Linked DNA regions of Homo sapiens: region 2 is linked to region 1. Evidence: promoter capture Hi-C in 16 types of primary human blood cells and fetal thymus (Javierre and others, 2016). All regions are on one chromosome and are shown on one strand. The core of a region is centred on a gene start or on the middle of the fragment in contact, and the rest is flanking DNA. Distances in the headings are between cores, read along the strand shown. Region 1 holds the start of PRKDC (protein kinase, DNA-activated, catalytic subunit). Region 2 overlaps SPIDR (scaffold protein involved in DNA repair).

Region 1 (2,700 bases), core at 143-2,642:
TTTTTTTTTTGGGACGGAGTCGTGCTCTGTTGCCCAGGCTGGAGTGCAGTGGCACAATCTCGGCTCACTGCAATCTCCTTCTCCTGGGTTCAAGACATTCTCCTGTCTCAGCCTCCCGAATAGCTGGGACTACAGGCGCTCGCCACCATGCCCAGTTAATTTTTGTATTTTTAGTAGAGACAAGGTTTCACCATACTGGTCAGGTTGGTCTCCATCTCCTGACCTCAGGTGATCCAGCTGCCACAGCCTCCCAAAGTGCTGGGATTACAGGCATGAGCCACCGCACCGTGCCACATATAGCATCTAGTTTAAACTGTTTAAGTTATTCCTACACCATATTCACTACTAGACCCTCCGGAAGAAAATCTCACCTTTTAATAGGGCACAACATCAAGGTCTGCATACTCGTGTTTTAAAGAAGGAATACAGGAGATCCACATAATTAAGTATTTGAATATTTAAAATGCTAAAAAGAGGCACTTTTACTACAAAGGGGAAAAAGTTCCCACCCAGGCATTGCTAAAGAGTTAAAAGAACATGACTTCAATTACATTTCTTCAATTTTTCTCAAAGTAGGAACGGCAAATAGAGGGGTTTGGAAAAGGTACTGGTGGGATTAGGCGAGATTCAGGTGAAAGAAAATACTTTCTCTTGGCCGGGCCCGGTGGCTCACGTCTGTAATCCCAGCACTTTGGGAGGCCGAGGCGGGGGGATCACGAGGTCAGGAGTTCGAGACCAGCCTGACCAACATGGTGAAACCCCATCTCTACTAAAAATACAAAAAAATTAGCCGGGCGTGGTGGCGCGCGCCTGTAATCCCAGCTACTCGGGGGGCTGAGGCAGGAGAATAGCTTGAACCCGGGAGGCGGAGGTTGCAGTGAGCCGAGATCGCGCCACTTCACTCCAGCCTGGGCGACAGAGCGAGACTCCGTCTCAAAAAAAAAAAAAATTATTTCTCTTGCCCTGCCCCCCACTCTGCATAGCAATGATTGCCATATTAGGGGTCGTTTTCACCAACTTTGGCTTTAAAATATCTTTCCTCTAATACTAGGGGGTAAAAAGCAGTATGACAAATCCCTTTATACACATACACAGAAATTCCCCCAAGAATCTAATTGCTGTACTTCAAAATACCGTCATCTAAACACAGAGAAGCGCCGGGCTGCCCGGCTCCAGAACGACTCGGGAAGCCAGGACCCACCCGCGGCCCAGCTCGGGCCGGTACCCACCCAGCACCGCGGGGCTGCTGCTCAGGACGCATTCCTGCCCCAGGCCGCGGATCAGTTGATGACCGGCCAGGGCAGCACCGCAGCGGTCCGCAGCGGACAAGGTCTCCTGCAGCCGCAGCAGGGAGCAACGCACACCGGCTCCGGAGCCCGCCATGCCGCCGAGTCCCGCTCCCGCGCGTGCGCCCGCTCGGCCCGGACCCGGAAATGCCCCTACGCGCGGAGGCGGGGCTGCGGGGCGCGGCGGCAGGAACTTTCCCGGGGACCCCTGCGGGAAGGCCTGGCCAGTAAGCGCGCCTCTTTGGCCCGAATCAACATGGAAACCTAAGGAAAAACGTCTGACCTGCGGAGGTAGTTTGGGTGGCTACTTGGTGTTGGACTTGGCTAAATAAATACCAGAGGCAGATAAAACAAGCGAGGGGCCTAGGTCAAGAGTTCCAAGTTTGTTCCTCGATAAAAAACGACAAACGCGGTCGGGGGCGGTGATGCCCGCCTGCAGTCCCAACACTTTAGGAAGCTGAGGCGGGGGGATCGCAGGAGTTCGAGACCAGTCTGGGCAACATAATGAGACCATCCCCACCACCTCCCGTCCTTAATTTTTTTTAATAAAAAAAATCTTTAAGTGAGAAATGCATCTGTAATGTCCTTATTAACCAAAAACGCCTAAGGGATAAAGAAGCACACGCTCCCTAGCCAACGCTAGAGGAACACACCCCGAGAGCTGGTGCTGTAGGACCCAGTTTTCCCGCGAAAACGCTGCCGCGCAGGGGGTCAGACCATCTGGACCAAGGGGGGCCGAGCGAGGCCTACTTCTGGTTTACGCACGGGCGCTGAAAGAAGCGGCACTGTCCCCCCCTGCCGATGCGCAGTGGCGCCTCCCGGAGGCGGAGCCACGTACGAGCGCCGCTGTGATTGGTGAGGCCCCGCCAGGGGCGGAGACGACCTTGCCGCCGGCGGGAACTCTGGGTCTCGCGGTTTGGGAGCGCTACTCGCCAGGTGGACTCGGAGTCCGCGAGCGTCGTCGGCAAGCGGCCGCCTTTCCACGGTAACCGCGCGCCGGCGGGGAGGGCGTGGCGCGGAGCCGACGGGAACGTCCGCGCTGCGGAGCAGGGCAGGGAAGCCGGGAGGCGGGCCCGGCCCGAGCTTGTCCTTGTCGCGCAGGTACTCCGAGCACTATGTCGTCCCCGGCGTCGACCCCGAGCCGCCGCGGCAGCCGGCGTGGAAGGGCCACCCCCGCCCAGACGCGTGAGTCCCCCGAGCCGGGCCCACTACAGCCCCCGGCGCCGCCCCGTCTGCCCTCTCGCCGCAGCTGGCAGCGCTGGGTGGGTGCGCGGGACCCGGGCGCTCAGCCTCGGGCTGGGCGCTGCCGCTTGGTGCGCACAGACACCCACAGCAGGCTGTGGCCTGGGTGCTGCTTAATTCGATTGCCATTTGCCTCTGTTTGGTTTGGTTCAGTGGTGAGTCATAATGCCCC
Region 2 (2,700 bases), core at 165-2,664, 610 kb before region 1:
ACACCATTCTCAACTGCATGATGAAATCTCTTGTCACCCCATTCTGTCTCATCTGGGACATGAATCCCCTGTTTTGTCCCACCTGTCCATCCTGTAGATGCTCCTGCCTGTTAGTCTCTTCGTAGCTGGTCTGTTATCAGATTGACTATCACAACATCTCAGTGCTGTGTTCACGTCACTCTTACTTTACTTAATAGTGACCCCAAAATGCAAGAATAGTAATGCTGGCATGTTGTTACAATCGTTCTATTATTATGTTGTTAATCTCTTTACTGTGTCTGATTTATAAATTAAGCTTCATCATAGGCATGTATTCATGGGAAAATCTATGGTGAATATAGCGTTTGGTGCTATCCATGTTTTCAGACATCCACTGGGGGTCTTGAAACATATCCTCTCAGAATTGATTATTATTTTGAGGTCCCATGTTTTAAAAGCAGTGTGAAGAAGGTAGGTGAGTTCAGAAAGGAAACTGAGTTGGGTTTTGAAGACCGAGTGGGATTTACCACATTTAAAGTAGAAAATGTGGTAAAGAGCTGGGATGAAACAGGTGTGTTTAATACTCATTGCAGGCTGGAGTATGGGACCATAGGGTGGGGAAGATGATACCTAGAACTTAACTTTTTGAACACAAGTTAAACAAAATGATGTCTTAATTTTGAAAGCATAACTTTTAAAGTACAGTTAGCCCTCCATATCCATGGGATATGTGGATTCAATCAACCATGGACCAAAAATATTTGGAAAGACAAATTCTACAAAGTTCCAAAAAACAAAACTTGATTTTGCCACATTGAGTACTACACTGAATGAAGTGATACGTAGGCATTGTGTTAGGCATTATAACTAGTCTAGAGATGAATTAAAGTATACAGGAGGATGTATATAATGTTATATTCAAATACTACATCATTTTAGATCAGGAACTTGAGCATCCTTGGATTTTCTTGTCATCGGAGTGAGCAGGTCCTAGAAGCAATCCCCTATGCTTACTGAGGGATAACTGTATATTATAATTTTGAAAGAACAGATGTTCAGGATCCTTTAAACATTTTACTGTGTTAGAGGATAATTTGGGCTGGGCGCAGTGGCTCACGCCTGTAATCCCAGCACTTTGGGAGGCCGAGACAGGTGGATCACGAGGTCAAGAGATCGAGACTATCCTGGCCAACTTGATGAAACCCCGTCTCTACTAAAAATACAAAAATTATCCGGGCGTGATGGTGCGTGCCTGTAATCCCAGCTACTCGGGAGGCTGAGGCAGGAGAATCACTTGAACCCGGGAGGCGGAGGTCGCAGTGAGCCAAGATCGCGCTACTACACTCCAGCCTGGTGACAGAGCCAGACTCCATCTCAACAAAAAAAAAAAAAAGAAAGAAAGAAAATAATTTGACCGTGTACTTCTTGTTTTCATCTGGAGTCTAGGCTGTAAAATATAAACATTACAGTTAAAGGCTTTATATGTCTATGTGTCTTAGCCTAGACATTGGATATGTGTTGCTATGGGATGAGAGATCTGATTTATTTTAGCCACTAGCAGTAAATGTGGTGAAAAATTAAGACTGAAAACTACAATGTTGAGGGGTGAAAGGAAGGGCTAAACATTTTTCATTGTGGTGGATTCTGCCAGCGTAGACTGCTAAATGTTTGTGGTTTGGATCTTGTTCACTCTGAACGCTTTAGGCCTTGTGTAGGTTTTCCCCAGAGTATGAGGTGGTTGTGAACTGCTTTTGCTAATGGTGAGAATGAACTATCATGATGTTATATAACAAGGATGGCATTCTGGGAGACGCAAAATTTAAAGTAGGGGAAAAGGAGGATGGCAAAAACTAAGTAAAGTAACTTGAAAAGTTATTCTTTCTGCCAGGCGTGGTGGCTCACGCCTGTAATCTCAATGCTTTGGTAGGCCGAGTCGATGAGGTTGAGAGATCGAGACCATCCTGGCCAACGTGGTGAAACCCCATCTCTACTAAAAATACAAAAATTAGCTGGGCGTGGTGGCATGCACTTGTAGTCCCAGCTACTTGGGAGGCTGAGGCAGGAGAATTGCTTGAACCCAGGAGGCAAAGGTTGCAGTGAGCCAAGATCATGCCACTGCACTCCAGCCAGGCGACAGAGCGGGACTCTATCTCAAAAAAAAAAAAAAAAAAAAAAAGTTATTCTTTCCAAATATGATACAATTTTGTTCAACTTAATTTTGTTAAATTTTTATTCAAAAAGTTAAGTTCTAAATAGCATCAAACATGGTGGGAGTCAAAATAATTAAAATCGTATTTTTTCTGAAAGTGTGTAGACTGCCTGCATACTTATATATACGCCAGATTGTATTTTACTTACCTTCTCATTTGCATCTTACCCTTGTGGCCGAATTAGCAGGACCTGTGTGAGAATGACATAACTTCACCGCCTCTTACCTGCTCCAGCTGCAACGCGTGAGAGTGCTGAACTGTGGCCTAGATTTTTCTCTAGGGCTTTCCACGGAAGTGAGTCAACACATTGTTTCTGGCTTTTCTTGCTGTCCCTCCCTAATATGCAAGCTTAGGTTGCTTTGGAATTTTCCAGGTACAGTGTTGGAGAAGTTGTAACACAGGAGGAGGCCAGAGCGTAGGTTTAGTGTGGTGGGGAGAGGGTTGGAGCAATTGTTCAAGGGAAGATTGAAAGTGACCAAAATGGCATGAGGGTAAAAATGTTACCTGAATT

The links. Contacts are between HindIII fragments. The CHiCAGO score rates a contact against its expected background, and 5 or more counts as called.
Region 2: a fragment that was not itself captured here is called in contact with the fragment with the promoter of PRKDC in region 1 in 1 of 17 cell types (monocytes); the score reaches 5.1 in monocytes.

The regions. Positions count from the first base shown.
Region 1 is chr8:47,958,744-47,961,443 of GRCh38, forward strand. It overlaps PRKDC (protein kinase, DNA-activated, catalytic subunit), which reads right to left and starts at 1,393. Exons shown (of 86, transcript NM_006904.7): 1 at 1,230-1,393. The coding sequence starts at 1,383. It overlaps MCM4 (minichromosome maintenance complex component 4), which reads left to right and starts at 2,198. Exons shown (of 17, transcript NM_182746.3): 1 at 2,198-2,271; 2 at 2,388-2,471. The coding sequence starts at 2,402. RefSeq lists an enhancer at 862-1,021 and silencers at 1,202-1,251, 1,262-1,561, 2,232-2,631. The HindIII fragment of the contact is 8,899 bases long and covers 1-2,700 here.
Region 2 is chr8:47,350,921-47,353,620 of GRCh38, forward strand. All of the region lies in intron 5 of SPIDR (scaffold protein involved in DNA repair), which reads left to right. Among named protein-coding and RNA genes, the nearest start is that of SPIDR, 91 kb to the left of the region's middle. RefSeq lists an enhancer at 1,954-2,700. The HindIII fragment of the contact is 2,242 bases long and covers 294-2,535 here.